2 separate regions of the Homo sapiens genome follow, and region 1 is linked to region 2. Evidence: promoter capture Hi-C in 16 types of primary human blood cells and fetal thymus (Javierre and others, 2016). All regions are on one chromosome and are shown on one strand. Each heading gives the region's core, a stretch centred on a gene start or on the middle of the fragment in contact. The rest is flanking DNA. Distances are from core to core; before and after follow the strand shown. Region 1 overlaps YEATS2 (YEATS domain containing 2). Region 2 holds the start of B3GNT5 (UDP-GlcNAc:betaGal beta-1,3-N-acetylglucosaminyltransferase 5).

Region 1 (5,463 bases), core at 1,641-4,140, 530 kb before region 2:
AAATAAAAAAATTAAAAAACTCAAGAATTGGCCAGGCGCGGTGGCTCATGTCCGTAATCCTAGCACTTTGGGAGGCTGAGGCGGGTGGATCACCTGAGGTCAGGAGTTCGAGACCAGCCTGACCAACATAGAGAAACCTCGTCTCTACTAAAAATACAAAATTAGCCAGGCTTGGTGGCGAATGCCTGTAATCCCAGCTACTCGGGAGGCTGAGGCAGGAGAATCGCTTGAACCCGGGAGGCAGAGGTTGCAGTGAGCCAAGATCGCACCACTGCACTCCAGCCTGGGCAACAAGAGCGAAACTCTGTCTCAAAAAAATTAAAAAATTAAAAAATTAACTCAAGAATAAAAAAGAATAAACGATTAACACACATATAGATAAATCTTGGAAACATTACGTTGAATAACAGAAGCCAGACATAAAAGACTACATACTATATAATTCCACTGACATGAAGTTCAAGAAAGACAAAAGCTAATCTATGGTGAAAGAAACAGAAAAATGGTGATAGAAAAAAAAAATTTTTTTTTTTTTAAGACAGGGTGTTGCTCTATCGCCCAGGCTGGAGAGCAGTGGCACCATCATGGCTCACTGTAGCCTCAACTTCAAAGGCTCAAGCCATCCTCCCACCTCAGCCTCCTGAATGGCTGGGACCACAGGCATGTGCCACCATGGCCCAGGTAGTTTCTTTTTTTTTGAGACGGAGTCTTGTTCTGTCGCCAGGCTGGAGATCTACGCTTATGATCTATGCATTATTTTATTATATCTTTAAGGATGTGGGGCTAAAAGGAAAAAGCATTTAAAGCTTTGAATTTTCTTGAGCCTGGTTTGGGTTGTTTCCATAGGTTTTAATATCAAGTACTGTTGTGATGGTTAATTTTATGTCAACTTGAGTGGGCTGAGGGATGCCCAGATACCTGGTAAAATATTTCTGCAAGAGACCAGCATTTGGATTAGCAGACAGAGTAAAGAAGATCCGCCCTCGCCAACGTGGGCAGACATCATCCAATCTGTCAAGGACCTGAATAGAACAAAAAGGCGGACAATGGGCGAATTCTCTCTCTCTTCTTAAGCTGAGACATCAATCTTCTCCTACCCTTAGACATCAGAGCTCCTGGTTCTCAGGCCTTCAGACTCCAGGACTTAATGCCAGTGTGCCCCTCACTCCCATGCCCACCAGTTCGCAGGCCTTTGTAGTCAGACTGAATCACACCACTAGCTTTCCTGATCTCCAGCCTGCTAACAGCATGTCGTGGGACTCCTTGGTCTCCATAATCACAGGAGCCAATTCTCATAATAAATTTCCTCTTAATATCTATATATATTATATTTGTTCTGTTTCTCTGGAGAACCCTAATAAAATTGTCATTTGTATTAACAGCTAAATCATCCGTAATTTATTTGGATTTTTTTAACCCAAGAATTTAGAAGAGTATTTTAATTGTCAAGTTTTTTGGTTGTTATTGATTTGACTTTTTTATTGAGTAACAGAATGAAGCACATTGGATGCTACTTTTGAAATATGCTAAGAGATTCTCTTTGTGGCCAAGTATATAATCAATTTGTTAATGTTCCACAGATATACAAGCAAAATGTGTATTCTGTGTCTCAATGATACAGAATTAAGCCTGTTAGTACTGTTATTCCAATACAAATCCTTTATAATAAAAAAGATTTATCCACTTGATTAGCTAAATGCTGAGAGACATGTTAAAATTCTTCTCTGTGACTGCAGTTTTATCAAATTCTCCTCATATTCCTAATAGTCTTTGCACTTTATGTATTTTGCTGCCAGAGTTCACTGCATAAACATTTGTGCCATTTTATCTTCATTGTGGACAGCAATACTCCTCTCAGCGCCAAATCCAAAAAAACCAGAAAAGGCATAAATAAATAAATGCATTCTACTGGTTGTGTTCAAAAACTAGTTGAGGAGCCCAATAGTGGACAAGCAACTACGAAAAACAGACAAAAGGCTGCAGAAGAAAGCCTCGCCAAGTGATAAAAGCCTTACGTGGGACACGCCAGGAGAATCTGCCACAGAAGCGTGGAAAAACGCTAGATAAGCTCCACATCTGGAGATAGCAGAAGCTTGAGGCAACCAGAAGGGTGATGTGTTGGGTACTGTGGCAAGAGCAGCCAGTTCTATTCAGTTTCCAGTGTTCTCCATGCCCTGCGCCCCCGCTTCCTCCTTCCTGTGGTGCTTGCTGTGTTGGTGTGAGATATATCCACATATGTAGTTGGAAAAGGGAAGAGTATTTTAACAGCTCTTTCAAATACTGTTGTTACTCTTCTCTGATGCTACACTAAAGCTCAACAAGTGGAAGTTTCTTCAAGTTTAGTTGTATTATGCAATCTGAAACCACAGCAATTTAAAGTTTTCTCTGTTAGATCTTGAGTCAGAAAGATAAAAAATTAAAAAAAAAAAAAAAAAAAGTAAAGGCCAGGTGCGGTGGCTCACGCCTGTAATCTCAGTTCATTGGGAGGCCGAGGCGGGCAGATCACGAGGTCAAGAGATCGAGACCATCCTGACCAACGTGGTGAAACCCCGTCTCTAGTAAAAATACAAAAATTAGCTGGACATGGTGGCGGGCACCTGTAATCCCAGCTACTCGGGAGGCTGAGGCAGGAGAATTGCTTGAACCCAGGAGGCGGAGGCTGCAGTGAGCCGAGATCGTGCCACTGCACTCCAGCCTGGCGACAGAGCAAGGCTGTGTCTCAAAAAAATATATAAAAAATAAATAAATAAATAAAAATAAAGTTTTCTCTGTCAAGTTAAAATCCGTTGGTCAGGGACTTTTGCTTCCACATAGGAAACAGAGGGCTATAAAGCACGGTTGCTCCTACCCTAACAAGAAAAGGCTGAATACACTACAAAATCTTATTTTTTTGAAACATATTGGAGGGCTGAAATCTCAAAGTAGCCAAGTAACCTGAAGATTAAAGATAGCCAGTCCCTGCAAGGAGGGAGGGGCAACAGGAACTGTCTCACCTGTGCACTGCTGCAACACAAGCAGGTGTGAAATCTAAGGAAGATTTAAAAGAACTGTCTACAGTGAACTGCAGGGCCTTGTATCTGTTTAACATGGGTAAGGACATTCGACAAAAAAGAACAAAAGAGGACACCAAATGCTGGTAATTTGAAAAGATCAATACAACTGATAAACCTCTAGCTAGACTGATCAATAAAAAGAGGACACATAATTACCAAAAGCAAGAATGAAAACGGGCTGGGCGTGGTGGCTTGTGCCTGTAATCCCAGAACTTTCGGAGGCCGAGGCGGGCAGACCACGAGGTCAGGAGTTCGAGACCAGCCTGACCAACATGGTGAAACCCTGTCTCTATTAAAAATACAAAAATTAGCTGGGCGTGGTGGTGGACTCCTGTAATCGCAGCTACTCGTGAGGATGAGGCAGGCGAACTGCTTGAACCCAGGAGCCTGGGCAACAGATAAAGACTCTGTCTCAAAAAATATATATAAAAAGAAAAGAAATAAACAACCTGAACAGTCCCGTATCTAGTAAATAAACTGAAACTGTAGTTTAAAACAGTAATATAAAAACCTTCTCAATTAGGAAAACTCCAGGCTAATATGGCTTTTACAGGTATATTCAATTAAACAGTTAAGAAACAGTACCAATTCTATATAAACTCTTCCAATAAAGAGAAAAGAAAGGAAAAGCTTCCACTTCATTTTATGAGGCCAGTATTATCCTGATACCAAACCAGACAGAAATTACTAAGAAAACTACTGACCAGTATCACTTGCAAAAACTCTAAACAAGGCCAGGAGCGGATCACGCCTGTAATCCCAGCACTTTCGGAGGCCGAGGCGGGCAGATCACCTGAGGTCACGAGCTGGAGACCAGCCTGACCAACATGGAGAAACCCCATCTCTACTAAAAACACAAAATTAGCTGGGCATGGTGGTGCATGCCTGTAATCCCAGCTACTCACTCACTGTCTGGATACTATAGCTGAAACTGGCCCATTCTGGATCTTCCACGTGAAGCCCCTCTGGAGAAATTTTACAACAAAGTGTCAAGAAAGCTTTGTTTCTTCTAAAGAAATATGCGTTTTTTTCTTTCTCACAAATAGTGTGACTTTAAAACTGACCATGCTTCTCATTTTGTCTTTGCTATCACATTTATACCTTGATTTTTTTAACTGTGCAAGATATCTTAAGTGTTTGCATATGAGAATAACACCTGGGTCCTTAATTTTCTCATTCTACTTATATTTTCCCAAACCTCAAGATTCATTTTTGTTTTTCTATATTTTTTATTGTTCATTTTTTCTTTTTTTTTCTTTTTTTTTTTTTTTTTGAGACAGAATCTTGCTCTGTCGCCCAGGATGGAGTGCAATGGCACGATCTCGGCTCACTGCAACCTCCGCCTCCCGGGTCCAAGCGATTCTCCTGCCTTAGCCTCCCGAGTAGCTGGGACTATAGGCACGCACCACTGCACCTGGCTAATTTTTGTATTTTTAGTAGAGACGGGGTTTCACTATGTTGGCCATGTTGGCCAGGCTGGTCTCCAACTCCTGACCTCAGGCAATCCACCCACCTTGGCTTCCCAAAGTGCTGGGATTACAGACGTGAGCGACCACTCCTGGCCTTATTGTTCATTTTCTTATGTAACCTTAATTTCTTTGTGAAAAGAGAGAAACTACATGTAAATATGTAAATAAATGCCATAATCACCCCATATTTGGGGTGTGTGCATGGGCGTATTTACCTGTGTAAACAATGTGGTTTTCTGTCCAGAGATGACTTTTAGCGTTTGTTGTCCTTGTGCAGAAGATGTGCTGACTCCCAGTGTTCCTTGGACCACTGACCCAGTGGTGAGTTGTTTTCCAGAAGTCTGGGGTGATGGCTGGCCAACTAAAAATGTGCCCTAAGTTAGAAAAAAATATAAAGAACTAATCGGTAATTTGTTAAATTCAGATGGGCTGTTCTGATCCCTTAAATCACATGTAACGTCCCATGTTACAAGCTACAACGCTCTCCCCTTTAATTCTGCAATGTAGGCAAAATAATTCAAAAGAATAGTTGTGCTCTAAGTGTTACTTCCATTAGTTATCCCCACTTCTCAAACTTTGCACTGTAGTTACAGAGCAGCCTGTTGAAAACTCATGTTTTGCAACTTAGTCCTCAAAACTGGATTTAATCATTCAGACTGATATCATCTTTCTCAATAAGAACATCTGGAACCAAAATTCTATTACTTTCCTTCAAAAAGAGCCAAGACTTCAGTGACAAGAGGAGACGAGGAGGAAACCTGTTCCTAATCAAATCTAACTTAACTCTAAATATTACAACTTGATACCATCTCTTTGATCACTCCCTTCTATGAGCAACTTTTCAACTGTACATTAATACTGTTTATTACCTCATGGATTTTGGAGGCAATTAGCATAGTAGAAATCTTTAAGGCAGGAAGATCTGGGTTTAAACCCAAATT
Region 2 (4,991 bases), core at 1,210-3,709:
CTTTATTTTGAAAACTCTTCTGCACCTTCTGAGTTTTCTCTGGGCAGAGCAGTTATAAGCATCTCTACCTCCTACTCATCCTCATCTCCCACTTTCTCAGGAACAGCTGCTCTGAGCTTTGGCTTGGGCCTTTCCTGTGATAACACTGGTTCTACCTTAGAGCCTTGCAGGGCCGGGAAGGGTCAGCCTGAGTCAGCCTCCTCCTCAGAGTGCTCAGTCAATGCTCAGAGCGTGTGCGGGAGGATAAGGAAGAGTGAGAAGGACAAGCAGGTTAAGTACAGAATGGAAACCTTTCTGGTATTGCGTTTAGCTTGCTTTAAAAGCAAAGAGTTGGCCCCAAAAAGCAGCTTTCACCTCCTCACTTGTGACCAGATAGAAAATCTACCATAAATTTATTTTGAGAAAGTTATAACGTCTGCTGCTGATCACTAATCACCCTTTCAGAAAGTTCAGGGTGGAATCATTTCGGTGCCACCACTTAATACAACTACCTTCAATCATCCTTTTCTGGGTCAACTTCGGCTTTTCACATTCCTCTCCCATCCCCCACAGGGAACAGGCAAGGTTTCCCAAAATAAAGGCACAGACGCACAAATCCAATTCTGATGGATGTACTTTCATCAGATAATTACCATAAATATGAGCCTCAGGCCACCATCGGCCACTGTGCGGTTACCACATCGGTGTACCTTTAACATGATCCATAACCTAAGAAAACCAACACCGGCCAAGAATGTACAGGGTGTAGTCAAGAGTCGAGTTGAAAACTGTTACTTTTACCTATATGGTATCCAAGCAAGCAATTGCCTCTGTCACATCAGGATTCAAAATGAAATGAGGCAGAGTCAAAGGAAAGAGTGGCCACGACCTCCCCGCCAGGGAGATCTGCGGCTGCAGTCTCCCCGCCTGCCCACTTCCCTGTCCCCATTTCCCCCGCCAGTAACTCGCCGAAAGCGTTCTCAGGTTGGCGGTTTCTTCTTTCCAGCCCGACACGGGCTTTCGACTCGAATTCAGCCCTCCAGCCGGAGGCGGGTGGCCGCAAGCCTGGGGCCCCCGGCCGGCAACCGAATTGGTGGGCGCGGCGTTCGCCTCGCGGCTCCCGCGCACGGGCCTGTCCCGCCACCGAGGAGCCGGAGCTCCTCAGGGACGGGGACCCGCAGGCCCCGGGAAGCCGCCCCAACCGGAGCTGCCCGGCCCCCGAGCCTACCTGCCGCACCTGGGCGGCGGCCCGGCCTGGGTCCCAGCCGCTGGCCACCCGCGCGGGCAGGCCGGAGGGAACAAAGGCGTTCCGGGGAGGGGACGAGCCTCCTTCTCCGCCGCGCTTTCAGAGGGCGGGCTGCCGGGGCCCGCGGTGGGAGAGGCCTCCCCGGCTTCCCGACTTCCCGGCGCTGGGCCGTGCGCGGTCCGGGCCAGGGCGGCGGGCCCCGATCCGGTGTCCACGCCAGCCACGCGCCCCCGGCCCAAGCGCGCGTTCCCACCTGAAGTCCTGGCGCCACCCGCCGGGCGAGGGCCGGCGTGCCCTCACCTCCTCGCCACTCTTCTCCTCCAGAGACCTCGCTCGGCCCGGAGTGGGCAGACTCGGAGCCTCCCGCGCCGGAGACCGCGAGCCGCTCGGCCGAGGAGGCGCGGCGGGGCGGGGGCGGGGCGGAGGGGCCGGCCCGCAGCCCCCAATGCCGGGAGCCCGCGCTGGAGACCCAGGGAGCCCAGCTCGGGGCCGCGGCACGGAGAACGAACCATCCGTGGCCTGGAGACGTATCCCGCCGAGCGGCCAGAACTTTCCCCATTTAGCGATCCGGAAAGGAAGCCAACACTCCCACCCAGAGAGGCCTCGGCCGCGGAAAGATGCGGCCGCGGCACAGCCGTGTTTTCACCACGTAACTGACCACAGACTAACTCCGCGCGGAACCACCGGCCCAGGGCGCTCCGCCAAGAGGCGGACTGTGCTGGCCTCGCGGGCCCTACGCCCAGGGAACGCCGCGGTTCCTCCCACACGGGACACCGGTTCCGCAGCGCCGCGGATTAGGATGGTCTTTTACTTTCCGAGCGGGAGCTCTAACGCAGGCTCAGGCGGGTCTTGTTAAAAGGTTTCTGGTCACACCACTTATGCGTGGAGCTCTGGGGGCCTCAGTAACAAAGTAAGGAAACTTACAGCAAACTAGGGCTGCACTGCCGCTGTCCGTTTCTAAAATACGAGAAGAGGGGGAAACCCCGCCCCAGGCCAGCTTCCCAGTGACTTTACCTCCAAGTCCAGCTTCATTTCAAGGGCAGTTTAGAGCGAAACTCACGAAGTTCAAGCCCAGCTCTTTAAATGTCCAAATCGGAGGTCGGCTTTCCTTCCCGCATCGGAGCTAAAGTCGCTGGTCTCAAGAACAAAACTTGCGGGCTTTAAATCTTGGGCGAGGACTGGACGGGCAGCGCTGGACTGGGCTCGCTTCCCCGGCGGGATGCGGGCTGTATGCGGGCGGGATGGGGGCGGGCCCGGGCGGGGGCGCGAGGCTCCCAGCCGCGCGCCCCGCACTCTCGGCGTCACGGCCCGAGCCCGGCCCCGCCCGCCAGCCGCCACCCTCCCGGCGCGTAGGTGAAGGTGATGGGCCCCGCCCCAGTTTGTTCTTGTCTGTAGATGAGAATTCCAGGAAGTGTTTCCCTGCCGCTCGTCAGTTAATTGCGATCACTTACTCAAATGGCCAACTGGAAGCCAGAGTGCACATGAATGTCCTCTTTGAGCTATTTTCCTCCTTTAGAATACTTCATGCAGGTAACCAGACAATATCGAGAGATGCGGACTTCTACTCAACGAGAGAGATTATAAATGAATCCTGGATGCGCTTGATTTCTTGTTTCCCGCATGTTGTTAGACCTCTCCCTAAAGCCACAAAACATTTAACGGAGATAATATTTTGAGCGATTCTGTTATTGTACATATTTCAGAACATGACAGAAAAGCAAAAGATTAACCCAAATACTTTAGTAAAATAAAAGCTTTGAGTTTGTCGTAAAAGGAACAAGACAGGTAATGAGTTAAATGTATGATTGTCGAATCAGGGTTTAAAACAGTGGGGCCAGCAGACACGGTGGCTCACACCTGTAATCCCATCACTTTGGGAGGCTGAGCCGCAGGAGGATTGCTTGATCCCAGGAGTTAGAGACCAGCGTGGCCAACATAGCAAGACCCCATCTCTAAAAGAAAAAACACACACACAAAATGAAAACTGTTGTTCATTCAAACTAGATTTTTAGGAAGTTTTTAAATTGCTTTCCTTAAGCTGGTCAGCATCTTTTAAATCATGCAGTTCTTTTCATATGCTGCCTACACAGGGCATGGCTCAGCATCTCCCAGACTGTGGCACTGCATGTTCATCAGACCACAGACAGAAATATTTACATGTGTGATTTGCAAAGGAGTCATTGACAGTGACCCACAAATAAGCTGATTCATTGTTAATACAGCACTAATGACATACCTTCTCTAATAAAATGCTGACTGAAATCCCACATGCATTTCCCCCAGCCATCACATGTGTATGTTGTATATCTGTGCAAATATTCAATTACAATTATATTCCTTTCAGATCATTTGGAGCTAGGTCCATGTGTCAGTATACATATGTTCCACATACATGAGCACATAGAACTGTACCCACGAGAAATACAAACTGACCAAAACAGTGGTAGACACACATACAAATCACATATTCACATCATACTAGATACAGATAAACACACCAGATAGATAAATGGTTTCAAAAGTATGTCTGGAGATTGGAAATACGATGCAAGTTTTTTGGTGGTAGGAGGGAGAGATGAGAGGGTGTGAAGGAGAGATAGGCAAGGTCAAGTAGTCCAGAATGCCCACTCTGGGATCCACACAAGCTCAGATCACACATGCGAGAGGACAGGCAAGTCCCCTTTGCTTGTTAGGGAAGATTTCCTAGAGCAGCCTGGCTTCCTGTCCCACCCAGAGAGAGGGGAAGAGAATGACAGATTTGATGGTATTGATGGTGCTATGCTCAGTTACTTTTATCAAGAGGGAGTGCATGAAGATATTGAGATGTGTTAGAAATAAACTTAGGTAATAATAATGATGCTGACTTGGCCAGCATGAAGAAGGAGGACCGTGTTGGCATGCTTTCCTTATCCAAGTAGCAGCTGGTAAGCAGAGAGCCCTGTGATTAGATCTATACATGACTTTGGAATGACCAAAATCTGCATGTTAGACTCGGCAGGGATAGATAAGGCACAGAAAGAGCAGAGGAGTAGCAGATTTAGGAGAGATGATCAGAGAGTAAGGCACATGCATCATTAGTAGTGGGGAGGGGAGACTAAACCCTGAGTACAAGAGAACCTGGGAGATGGTGGGAGCAACAGGGGCCCAAGGAAGAGGCCTGTGTTACTAAAATCATGAAAGGAGAAGCAGGTCTGATAACCGAGTGGCTTAACACAGCTGAAGTGTAGCAGCAGTATCAGGCTTGACCTGTTTAGCGAAATTTGTCTTTCTGGATTCTGTTAGACCAGATTTCCTCACAGGCCCTATAGGGAACCTGTCCAGTGAATCTGTGAATTCAAACACATCACGGGCCATGTATTCTGAAGCAGGCCGGTGTTCATTCAAGGCCTGGGCTGTTAGAGAGACTCTGGTTGTTTCCTGACCTGGCTTCCTACACAGGATCTCTGGCAAGTTAGCAAACTTCTCTGTGCCCACAGTAATACCTGCCTGCAAGGGTGGGTGAGGATTAGTGCAATCGCAGTGACGGGTGGAGTGCTGAGCTCAGAGCCTGGGCTATCCCAATGGGCGGATGAATGGTCAGCATCCTTGAGCCCATCACAGGTTGCAGAAAGCTCCTCTCACCTGGCAGAGGTAGGCTCATGCTGTGTCCTGTCATCGTGCTGTAAAGGATCTGCTGTGTTTCACACCTCTGGGAATTTCACATCTGTTGATACAGCATCACCATTCAGACGATGCCCTATCTCCTTGGCTCCGCCGCCTCTTTCTC

What was found. The method cuts DNA at HindIII sites, captures the fragments that hold promoters and counts their contacts. A CHiCAGO score of 5 or more calls a contact.
Region 1: a fragment that was not itself captured here is called in contact with the fragment with the promoter of B3GNT5 in region 2 in 1 of 17 cell types (M2 macrophages); the score reaches 5.1 in M2 macrophages.

The regions. Positions count from the first base shown.
Region 1 is chr3:183,776,975-183,782,437 of GRCh38, reverse strand. YEATS2 (YEATS domain containing 2) reads right to left here. Exons shown (of 31, transcript NM_018023.5): 19 at 4,738-4,896. Among named protein-coding and RNA genes, the nearest start is that of YEATS2-AS1, 31 kb to the left of the region's middle. The HindIII fragment of the contact is 1,591 bases long and covers 2,095-3,685 here.
Region 2 is chr3:183,250,721-183,255,711 of GRCh38, reverse strand. B3GNT5 (UDP-GlcNAc:betaGal beta-1,3-N-acetylglucosaminyltransferase 5) reads right to left here and starts at 2,459. Exons shown (of 2, transcript NM_032047.5): 1 at 2,240-2,459. The region is part of intron 15 of MCF2L2 (MCF.2 cell line derived transforming sequence-like 2); the gene reads left to right. LOC124906310 (a long non-coding RNA gene) reads right to left here. Exons shown (of 3, transcript XR_007096189.1): 2 at 4,847-4,928; 3 at 3,157-3,177. The HindIII fragment of the contact is 12,746 bases long and covers 1-2,981 here.